Linked DNA regions of Homo sapiens: region 1 is linked to region 2. The links are contacts of gene promoters, found by promoter capture Hi-C in blood cells and fetal thymus (Javierre and others, 2016). All regions are on one chromosome and are shown on one strand. The core of a region is centred on a gene start or on the middle of the fragment in contact, and the rest is flanking DNA. Distances in the headings are between cores, read along the strand shown. Region 1 overlaps MTHFR (methylenetetrahydrofolate reductase). Region 2 holds the start of AGTRAP (angiotensin II receptor associated protein).

What was found. Contacts are between HindIII fragments. The CHiCAGO score rates a contact against its expected background, and 5 or more counts as called.
Region 1: a fragment that was not itself captured here is called in contact with the fragment with the promoter of AGTRAP in region 2 in 1 of 17 cell types (erythroblasts); the score reaches 5.8 in erythroblasts.

What each region holds. Positions count from the first base shown.
Region 1 is chr1:11,795,073-11,799,565 of GRCh38, forward strand. It overlaps MTHFR (methylenetetrahydrofolate reductase), which reads right to left. Exons shown (of 12, transcript NM_005957.5): 5 at 1,134-1,327; 6 at 26-276. Among named protein-coding and RNA genes, the nearest start is that of MTHFR, 8.6 kb to the right of the region's middle. The HindIII fragment of the contact is 888 bases long and covers 807-1,694 here.
Region 2 is chr1:11,731,991-11,739,260 of GRCh38, forward strand. AGTRAP (angiotensin II receptor associated protein) reads left to right here and starts at 4,146. Exons shown (of 5, transcript NM_020350.5): 1 at 4,146-4,245. The coding sequence starts at 4,219. RefSeq lists an enhancer at 102-191. The HindIII fragment of the contact is 3,809 bases long and covers 1,442-5,250 here.

The DNA of each region.
Region 1 (4,493 bases), core at 1-2,500, 60 kb after region 2:
GGGATCTCTGGGCCACTGCCCTCACCTGGGGTCCTCAGTCCACATCCCCAGGCGCTTCAGCACCTCTGTGGTAGCCATCTCGCGGTTGAGGGTGTAGAAGTGGAGGCCTGGCACCAAGCCACTGGCCAGAAGCTCCTGGCACAGGCTCACGGCCAGCTCGATGCCATAGTTGCGGATGGCAGCATCGTTGTCTTTGATTGGCTCAATCACGTCCTTGATCTCCTGTGGCACCTCCAGCTTGGACAGCTTCACAAGCTGCCGAAGGGAGTGGTAGCCCTGTCCAAGACATGAGGGGCTGTGGCGGCTGCTGGCCAGCCCGTCTCCCACCCTAAATACTTCTCCCCCTTCCATCATCCATGCCAACCACAGTGTCAGGCAGAGGGACCCACGAAAGTCCGATCATATTCTAGGAGCACACCTGGGCTTGGCCTGCCGTTTTCTCCTCTTTTTTCTGTTTTTAGAGACTGAGTCTCACTGCTCTCAAACGCCAGGGCTCAAGCCATCCTCCTGCCTCAGCTTCTCAAGTAGCCGGGACTACAGGCACGTGCCACTATGCCCAGCTTTCCCACTTTTTACAGAGTAGAGCAGCTGCCCTAAGCATTCCAGCCTTGGGTTGAGCCAGCCTTTTAGCCCTAGATGTGTCTGTTGGTAACATGGTGTCATCTAACCCAGCTGTTCCCATGCTGCACTGATCATCCGAATCACCTGCCAAGCTCAAGAAGTAAAACACACATTCCGAGGACCTCCCTCAGATTTACTGAGTGAGAACCTCCAGGGGTGGGACCTGGAGATCCACTTTTTGAAAAAGCTTATCAAGTGGTTCTGATGACAGCCACCTTTGGGAAACACTGATTTAAGCAGGATTTGTAATGAGAATTAGAATCCCTTTTGGTGATGCTTGTTGGCCAAAGTACAACAAACCCCTCAACAGACACTGTTGCTGGGTTTTGGGGGGAAAATTAGAGGTAACCAAAATGGGGTGGCCAAGCAACGCTGTGCAAGTTCTGGACCTGAGAGGAGATCTGGGAAGAACTCAGCGAACTCAGCACTCCACCCAGAGCCCCCAGCCTGTGCGAGGACGGTGCGGTGAGAGTGGGGTGGAGGGAGCTTATGGGCTCTCCTGGGCCCCTCACCTGGATGGGAAAGATCCCGGGGACGATGGGGCAAGTGATGCCCATGTCGGTGCATGCCTTCACAAAGCGGAAGAATGTGTCAGCCTCAAAGAAAAGCTGCGTGATGATGAAATCGGCTCCCGCAGACACCTTCTCCTTCAAGTGCTTCAGGTCAGCCTCAAAGCTCCCTGCTTCGGGGTGGCCTTTGGGGTAACCTGCCAATAGGGATGACAGTCAGGAGAGGCTGGCCTCCACCTGTTCAAGGCGAGGGATGAAGAGACCACAGGGACTGGGCAGAGAGAGTCCTCTGCTTTGGGGGCTCTGATCTTGCACCTTCCAACAGCACAGCACAGCCTGAACTAAAACAGTGAGTGGCTGGGCTCATGACTGATATGCTTCTGACCCCAGAGATGACTCTCAGGGGAGGTGGCTCAGAGCCCAGTTCCAAGAGTGGGGGTGGATTGCTCCAAACTCCCACACTGTCCTGCCTTGAGCAGCCAAGCAAATCAGGCCTGCACTTGGTGGCCATAGAAAAGAGAAAATGCTACAGTTAGCACTGGCTGGGCAGCATCTGGGGTAGTAAGCTTGACTTTTCTCTAGGCACCGGATTAAACATTGTTTTTAATGTAACACTGAAATTACTCAGGGGTCCAAGATAGTGAAAAGCTAAAAACCAAGTTACACAAGGAAGAACTGAAGAAAGTGATGTTTTCTTCAAAGAAAATAATGGATGGCAGGGTGCGGTGGCTCATGTCTGTAATCCCAGCACTTTGGGAGGCCAAGGCAGGAGGATGACCTGAGGTCAGGAGTTCGAGACCAGCCTGGCCAACATGGTAAAACCCCGTCTCTACCAAAAATACAAAAATTAGCCAGGTGTGGTGGTGTATGCCTGTAATAGCTACTCAGGAGGCTGAGTCAGGAAAATTGCTTGAACCCACGAGACAGAGGTTGCAGTGAGCCGAGATCGTACCATTGCACTCTAGCCTGGGCAACGAGAGCGAAACTCCGTCTCAAAAAAAAAAAAAAAAAAAAGAATGAAAAGAATACAGAAACTCCTTTCAAATGTCCAAAGGTCTGTCCTGGGGAAAAAGGATCCACCATAGGTGAGTTTGTTTTGTTTTGTTTCAGAGACAGGGTCTTGCTCTGTCACCCAGGCTAGAGTGCAGTGATACAATCATGGCTCACTGTAGCCTTGAACTCCCGGGCACAAGTGATCTCCCACTTCAGTCTCCTGAGTAGCTTGGACTACAGATGCAAGCCACCACATCTGGCTAATTAAAAAAAATTTTTTTAATTAATTATTTATTTTTTAGAGATGGGGTCTTGCTATCTTGTCCAGGTTTGTCTGGAACTTCTGGGCTCAAGCAATCCTCCCACCTTGGCCTCCCAAAGTGCTGAGATTACAGGCATGAGCCACTGTACCCAGCCCCCTAGTGAAGTTCTTTATTAGTCATATTCTGTGTTGTTTCTAATGGCAGAACCAGCATCCGGTTCAGAGAGCTGGCTAGAGTACTATAAGCCACTCACAAAACAATGAGCTCCTGGAGTCTGAAAACACAGGGGCAGTGGATGCTGAAGACAAGATTCCAGAATTGCTTAGGAGGTGGGATCAGATGTCCCATAGGCTCCTTACTGGCTCTGTGAACTCTCTGACCCCTTTCCTCAATGACTAAACTTACTAGCCGCCTTGCTCGGTCAGGCAAGCAGGATGACCATAGGCCTTCATGAAACTACATGGAGTGCTGGTTTCATCAGCCCAAGCCCAGGGCAGGACTCTGAGCCAGGCGGAAGGCCAAGCTGCTTTGCTCTGATAAGGCAGTTCCGTTCTTAAGAAACCCAGAGTCATCAAAAAATGAATATAAAAACTATTGTTTCAAGGGGTAAGGGAGTGGGGGATAAAGCAATGGGGCTTCACACTTGCAATAACAAAGCTATTTTCCCAGTAGGAATTTCAGAAACAACAAGGCTTTTTAATAGCTGAAAAGTATAGCTACAATACCTAAATATCACCGAACAAATCTAGCATTTGATTACGTATAGATTTTGCTATTTACTCTATTTTTCTATCATGAACAGCTGAGGGCTTTCTTTTTTAAAATGTTTTTATTTTTTGTAGAGACACGGTCTCACTGTGTTGCCCAGGCTGGTCTTGATCTCCTGCCTCAGTCTCCCAAAGCTCTGGGATTACAGGCATGAGCTACCATGCCCAACAGGTTGGTGTTTTCTAATCCACTCATCTTCATTACCCACTTGATAAGCAAAGTAAGAAACCATTCAGCAACTGTGAGCTCACAGCTTCACTAGTTTCCAATCATTATCACCTAACGCCCATCACGGGTGCATATTCCCCCAGTAACTGACTATATAATGGCTGATACAAGCGATGACAATTTAACAGTTGGAAATGTCTGTTCTCTGACTCCTAATCAGTGCTTCCCAGACTTAGCACCTAAACACCCCTGTTGACAGAATGGACATGTCCATCGGGGGTTAGGGACAAGGCCAAAGTTACTCACAACATGTAATTTTCTTGAAGCCACGTGGTTTGTTTTTTGGGTTTTTTGTTTTGTTTTTTTTGAGACGGAGTCTGGCTCTGTTGCCCAGGCTACAGTGCATTGGTGCGATCTCGGCTCACTGCAAGCTCCGCCTCCTGGGTTCAAGCGATTCTCCTGCCTCAGCCTACCAAGTAGCTGGGACTACAGGCACGCGCCACCATGCCCGGCTAATTTTTGTATTTTTAGTAGAGACGGGGTTTCACTATGTTGGACAGGATGGTCTCAAACTCCTGATCTCATGATCCACCCGCCTTGGCCTCCCAAAGTGCTGGGATTATAGGCTTCAGCCACCGCACCTGGCCTTTTTTTTTTAGTTCATATCACTTTAGATGCTACTCCATAACATAGCCATGTTTAATATAAAAATGGTAGGATTTCTCCCAGAATATTGGCAAAAAAACTGTCATCCCAGAAAATGTGCCAATCCCGGGACTTCCTGTCCCTGGTGCACACTGTCTTGCCATACCTGAGCGCTGTCTGAGACGCTGAGGGCTCAATGCCAGCCTTCAGCTTCAAGGGTGGGAGAGAAGTCCAACCCACCCATTTCTGTTGGGGGAACCTGGTCTTGTGGCTGTGGCCAATGGTGATTCTCTTTCCTGGGAATTTGGAACGGAGGCCTGTCCATTAGCCTGGGGAACTGGCTGGAACTGACACTCTGCACACTCAGGAGCAGGCCAGGTGTGTGGAAAAGCATGGGTATCAGGTCTCCCAGATGAAGCACAGATGTGCAGTGGGAAGCGGAGATGGGGGACCCTGTGGCCCCAGAGGGAATGAGGGAGGGCCTTGCTTTTTGACCTCTTCCAGTGCCTTGTGAGGTCTGAGGCCA
Region 2 (7,270 bases), core at 2,896-5,395:
GTCTGAGCCACAGGGACGTTCCACAGGCCCAGCCTTGTGCTGCCTTCCGATCCTTGTCTTCTCCTACTTGCTTCACTCTATCCTTCTCATTTCAGCCCTGGCCGGATTTTTCTGCTGTGTGGTTACACGTCAGGGTCCTGGAGCCAGGCTTCCTGGGTCCCACCGCAGTTCCAGCAGCAATTAGTGCTGTGCCTGCAGCAAGCGGCTTCACTTCTGTTGATTTCAGTTGCCTAAGTGTAAACAGGAATAAGAACAGCGCGTGCCATAGTTCTGTTGTGAGCATTTACTATGAAGAACTTTCTTTTTTTTTTTTTTTTTTTTTGAGACAGGGTCTCGCTCCGTCTCTCAGTCTCTCAGGCTAGAGTGCAATGGCAGGATCTCGGCTCACTGCAATCTCTACCTCCTGGGTTCAAGCGATTCTCATGCCTCAGCCTCCCGAGTAGCTGGGATTATAGGCATGTGCCATCATGCCCGGCTAATTTTTGTATTTTTAATAGAGACAGGGTTTCACCATGTTGGCCAGGCCGTTCTCGAACTCCTGACCTCGGGTGTTCCACCCGCCTTGGCCTCCCAAAGTGCTGGGATTATAGATGTGAGCCACCGTGCCTGGCCCACTATGAAGCCCTTTCACACTGTCTGCCACACGACAACTACTGTTGGGGCTCAGAAAATGTCACCCCAATATCTGGTGCTTTGGCATGCTAAGTACTATGAACTACAGAAGACTGGAGGCCTCAAAAGCAAGGTCTCTGTGACGCCCTCCTGACCTCCTGTCTCCAGCCCCTCCTTCTCCCGTGAGGCAGTCACAGAACAAGAATTCCTCCTTTGGCAGGGGATGAGGTGACTCAAGTCTGTAATCCCAGCACTTTGGGAGGCCGAGGCAGGTGGATCGCTTGAGCCCAGGAGTTTGAGACCGGCCTGGGCAACATGGCAAGCCCTGTCTCTATAAAAAAAAATACAAAAATTAGCCAGTCATGGTGGTAGGTGCTTCTAATCCCAGCTATTCAGGAGGCTGAAGTGGGAGGATCACCTGAGCCCAGGAGGTTGAGGCTGCAGTGAGCCATGATCACACCATTGCACTCCAGCCTGGGTAACAGAGCAAGACCTTGTCTCAAGAAAAAAAAAAAAAAAAATCCTCCTTCTCCAAGGTGGGTCACAGAAACTAGAACCCGTGTCTCCAAAGTAGCCATAAAACCTAGAAAGGTGGCTCTCTCCCTTCTCTCTTTAAAGACCTCATTACAGAGGGGTTCTACCTCATACCCAGGAGGAAGGAATGCTGCATGGAGAGCCCAAGAAGAATCTGGACAAGACTTGTTCATTTTCTTTTTATCCAATTGCATTGCTACAGGGCTGTTCATTCTTCCTTGAAACTAAGCACAAAAATGGACAGATTTCCCAGGGCCTTTGAGTCTTCATCTCTGAAGCCTCCCATGTCACATGAAGCTTTGCTTAACTAAACTTGGTATGCTTTTCTCTTGTTAAGCAGTCTTTTTTTACAGGAGTGTCAGCTGTGACCTTTATGATGGGTGAGGAAAGGTATCACACCCTTCCGCCCCTACAGGGTCCTGTAAATGTCAGTTTAGTAAATGTCAGCTCTAATCCTAGGAGTTGTTTTGCGGTTTTTTTGTTTTTTTTTTGACATGGAATCTCACTCTGTTGCCCAGGCTAGAGTGCAGTGGCAGGATCTCGGCTCACTCCAACCTCCACCTCCCAGGTTCAAGCAATTCTCCTGCCTCAGCCTCCCAAGTAGCTGGGACCACAGGTGCACACCCCCATGCCTGGCTAATTTTTGTATTTTTAGTAGAGACGGGGTTTCATCATGTTGGCCAAAATGATCTCGAACTCCTGACCTCAAGTGATCCACCGGCCTCAGCCTCCCAAAGTGTTAGGATTACAGGCTTGAGCCACCGTGCCCGGCCTGTTTTTCATTTTCTCCTTACAAAGTGATCACAACTTTATTATATACCTAAAGGCTTGGATTAAATCCCTCTAGAATCTGGAGTGTATGGGAAATATTTTTTAGAAGGAAATTGATCAGGCTGCGCACTGTGGCTCACGCCTGAAATCCCAGCACTTTGGGAGGCCGAGGCGGGCAGATCACCTGAGGTCAGGAGTTTGAGACCAGCCTGGCCAACGTGGCAAAACCCTATCGCTACTAAAAATACAAAAATCAGCCGGGCATGTTGGCACCCACCTGTAGTCTCAGCCACTCAGGAGGCTGAGGCAGGAGAATCACTTAAACCCGGGAGACGGAGGTTGCAGTGAGCTGAGATCGCGCCACTGCACTCCAGCCTGGGTGACAGAGCCAGACTCCATCTCAAAAAAAAAAAAGATAATAATAACATAATATTCTAATATTGACTGCTTACTGAGAAATTACTCTCTTCTAAGTACTTTACTAATAACAATAATTAATTACCAATAATGAACTAATAATAATAATAGCAACCAGTCCTAAATCAAACTGGATGTAGCCATTTGGCTGGTCTCTAATTTACCCCTAGACTGGGGGGATCTGTGCCTCCTAAGAGGGCATTAAGTTAGGCCTATGGGCCCTGCAGCCCTGCAAAACTCTCCTCATCCATCCAGAGAAACCCTTTCTTTGCATCTGGAGAGACTATGGGTCTTGGTATTATCTAAGGACTCACCCAGGCAGTTTTGTAGGTTCCCACCTGGTTTCCCCCACCCTAGGAATAAGACCAAGTGCTCAGGTGTACCCTGAAGGTTTCCATACCTAGGTGACACTAAACAAAAGCTGGTGTTCTCTAAAGGAAAGTTGATGTTAGGAAGGGACCTGGAGGTAGAGCGGATTAATGTTCTTGTTGCGGTGGGGGGATGTGGTGGTCAACAATCTTTAAGGGAGGTGCCAGGTGAGGCAGGAGACAGCCCTTTCTTTCCTCATGTACAATTGGGGGAGGAATTTCTTATGGTTTTTCAGCTAGAGTTTTCTAAAACTTTTGGTATGCTGATTAAAGTGGGCTCCCACCAATTTGGCTCCTCAGGTGTTGCTTTTTGTTTGTTTGTTTTTCCCAGACAAGGTCTCACCCTGTCGTCCAGGCTGGAGTGTAGTGGCGTGATCTCGGCTCACTGCAGCCTCCCCGGTTCAAGCAATTCTCGTGCCTCAGCCTCCTGAGTAGCTGGGACTGCAGGTGCACACCACCATGCCCTGCTAATTTTGGTATTTTTAGTAGAGACGGGGTTTCACCATGTTGGCCAGGCTGGTCTCGAACTACTGAGTTCAGGTGATCCACCCTCCTTGGCCTCCCAAAGTGCTGGGATAACAGGGGTGAGCCACTGCGCCCAGCCTCATCTTGTGTTGGTAATAACAATAGCTTGTGTGTCCTGCCCATTTACTAAGTGCCGGGCACTGTTCTCTCCTAGAACAAACCGTAGTTAGACTCCTCTGAGTCCTCATCTTGACTAGGCCTCGGCCTTGGACCTCTGTGTCTTCCTGTCCTTGCTGGGCCTGAGCCTGCATAATAAACCAGTTTCAGCAAGAGTCCTGCTAAGTTAGCAAGAACTCCCCCATCCTTGATGTCTCCTCCTAGGAATCTTCCATTCCTGCTCCCTCATTCTGCTCTGGCTATAAATCCCTCCTTGGTCCTTGTTGTATTCGGTGTTGAGCCCAAACTCTCACTCCATGGCAATAACCCTACAGCAAGTCTTGAACAGTACTGGTTTAACAACAGTCCCAATAACGTTTTCTTTAACAACAGCAGTTAGCTCATTTAATCCTCATAAGGATCATATGAGGTAGGTAGCCTAAATAGCCCATTTACACAGGGAAGTGGGAAGGAGAGAGGGTGCCCCCAAGGATGAGACACAAGCTGTTGCCACATCAGCACTTTGCGCCTGGACGGTCCCCCAGTTGTCCTGGCTGCAGGCAGTCCGAACAGTCCGCTTCCTGGAATATTAGCCAGGCAGGATACGCCCTGGGCGACAGAAACTCCAACTTTCGCCAGCGGCCCCCAAGTACTGCCTGGGCGGTGGCGGGAGTCTGGAGCTTGGCTGAAGGCGCGAGCTGCCGACGCCGTCTCCTAGCAACCAAGCGGCGGTCACGTGACCCGCTCCAGCCCGTTTCACGTGGTCTTGAGCTGCGCTGGGGTTGGAGTGGCCGCAACGGGCGGGGCGGGGCGGGGCCGGGCAAGTTTGTTCCCCGAGTTCGGAGCCTAGGAGCCCCCCGCGGCTGCGGCGCAGGTGCCCTCGGCCTGAGTCGGGATGGAGCTGCCTGCTGTGAACCTGAAGGTGGCGACGGGCTGGGGGGAGGGTCCCCTTTGCGGGAGGAAGTGGGACATTTGCATTTTCCCGGAAGGTGGGAGGAAGGACCGGAGTTTTGGGGAAAGAGGGATGGTAGGGAGGAAGGGAAGGTACAGACCCCACGCAAGAAGGAGATGGGCAGGCAGGCCACAGCAGGGAGAGTGATCCAGGCACAGGCCAGCAGGGCGACACTGAGGGGCCGTGGGAGGTGGCAGCGGAGGGCAAGGGCCGCCCCCTCCCGGACTCAGACCCTCCCAGCGGGCAGCGCCGGTCCCAGCATTGCTGTTGCCTGCACGCCCAGAATTCCCCTGGAGGAGGAGGAAGGTGCGCGGGAGGGGCTTGTAGGCGGCTCACCTCCCCCGCGCGGGGTCAGGGACTGGGCTTGCCCCCCGGGTCCCAGCACCGTTTCAGGAGCCTCCTTGTTTGCTAAGTCGGGTTAAGGAAATCAGATGTTCCCAAGCAGTTGGTTTTATAAAGTTTACACATCCAGCGCCCTTATTTCATAATCAAGAAGCGCGAACTCCAACAGAAATTACTTAAAAGCAGAAAACCCCAACTTTGTGCACTGGGGAAAACACTGCAGGGCTTCCTGTGGTGTCTTCATTTCCCGAGCCGTGAGCTCAGTCCGGGTCTGGGTGCCAGCGGCTGTTCTTTTTCTCCCCGCCCAGCCCCGCCGCCCACGTGTCTGGGCTCCATTTGCATTAGAGGGGCTAGGGGCTGTAGTTTTGGTCAGGAAGGTGTGGACCTTGGACCAAACCGGCCATTTTGGGTCTTAGTGCAGCCTCCTTTGAGGCAATATCCAGGAATGTCCTCTTACTCATGAATGACAGAGCATTTAGCTCCCTGTTGGTGTCTGGGACTAAAGGAACCTGAGAAATAGATGGTTACAAAACAATGGCTTAATACACTTTATTATTACACAACATCTGTGCTATGACTTGCTATAGGCATGTTTCCCTTCTTAATCATACTTGCTTCAGCAAACCTTCCTGAAGCTTCCAGTCAAAGGTGGTGGGGAGACATGGCTGGAGCAAGGGAATGGGCTTGGATGGAACGTTCAGCTGGGAAGAAATTTACGTGACAGCAGCCGAGGCTTGTTGGTATCAATATGCACTCTATTCCAGGCAATGTGGGGTTAACACCAACTGCCTTTTCTCTGATGAGGGATTTGCTTAAAATAATTGCTGACAGAGGATCAGGTGAGGGCAGTGGGAGGGACAGAGCTCTAATTTATGGGCTTCTGTGGTGTGCCAGGTTATTTAATCAAGGCAGCCTTATGAGAAAGCTGATATGGTCATCTTTTTACAGATGAGCAAACTTCAGCTTAGACTGGGTAAATTGCCAAGGTCCCACGGGGAGTAAGTGGCAATATCAGGATTTGAACCCATAGGGATCAGACTCCAGGGCCAGGTCCTTTCTGGGGTACCAGCTTAGGGCTGACTTTAACGTTGGCTGTTTCTGTCCTTTGGGAGGGCTTAGTCTCTTTGGGGCTTTTTTTGAGCAACTTTTTGGGCCTGACAGGCTAAGAGCATCCACAGGTATGAGCTATGCTGGCTTTCGGTACCCAGGATGAAAAGGCTGGTCCTCCCCTTGACTTGGCAAACGAGACCCCAGTCTCCAAGGGTGTTAGCCGCTACCAGTCAGAGACAACAAAGTGCTGGAAGGCCCTGAGGGGTCAGGGTTGTCAGGTCGTGTACAGGAGATCCAGGTGAATTTGAATTTCAGATCAACAACGAACAGTTTTTTAGTATGAGTAAGTCTCAGGCAATATGTGGGACATATTAACAAATTATTCATGATCTGATATTGGAAATTAACTGGGTGTTCTGTATTTTTGTTTGCTGGATCTGGCCACCCTGTGGAGGGCAGCTGTTGACTCCTTGCTTATAGGCACTTAGGGGATGTTCTGAGTTCAGAGCCCTTCAGGAGGTGGGGAACTGCTCCCTGTGGCCTGCACTCCCTCCCCACTCCCTCGTTTTGTATATTCCTTGGGCAAGGGCTGAGTGCCTGCTTCTGCCCAGCTCAGCCAGAGTGGGCAGTGGTGCCAGGTGAGAAGAAACAACTGCCCCAGGCCCTTTGCACAAAGGGCAGCTCCTGACCAAGCCCTGTCCATGTCTCTTGAAGCCAGGTCCTGAGCTGCAAGAATGACATTGTGATGAGCTTAGAAAGGACTGGACTAGGGTACAGAGGTCTTGTGGGAAGAAGACCTTGGGAGGAGGATCTGGTGGTCTAGGAGGTAGTCGTGTAGCATTTGGGTTAAAAACTCAGTAATGAGGACTGCTGGGATGGAGGGCTGAATTCCTCACAGGCACTGTGTGGAGCGCTTCCCACACCTCTCCACCTCCCTGTACCACTGGATCCACACAACAACACTGAATCAGGCAGTATTGCCCTTCTTTGCAGAAGAGCCAACAGCTGTTCTGAGAGGTCAGGTGACTTGCCTAAGGTCACTAGGTTCTAAAGTCATGGAGCCAGGATCAGATCCACCTGTTTGCCTCCAGTACCCACGAAGTTAACCGCTGCACAACTCTGCCTCCCATCCTTGGCAGCCCTGACTGGTGTCCCTGGGCCCCGGCCACCCTGGGGGATCTCACTAGCACGTGTAACAGGCCACCAAGTGTTTGCACAGGACTGGTAGGAGTTTATTCCATTTCTGGGAAGTCCTACCCCGCCATGGGTCCTCTAGTGGCAAACAAAGGGTTTAAGTCTTGGTCTGCATGCCCTGCTGGTTTCTCTTCAGCCTTTCCTTCTCCAGGTTAGACTTCCTCATTTCCATCTGCCCTCTACGGCTCTTCGAGATCCTGACGGTGTAGCACAGTGGACAGAGCACAGGCTTTGGGGGCAGGCAGGTCTGCATTCAAGGTCTTGAGTAGGTTTCTGTGTGACCTTGAGTAGGTTTCTGAACTCTCTCAGTATCTATTTCTTCATTGTAAAAAGAAGTTAAATACAGTCCCTACCTCCTAGGATGATGGATCCATGGTCCAGGACGTAGTCTAGAATTAGGGTTACAAAT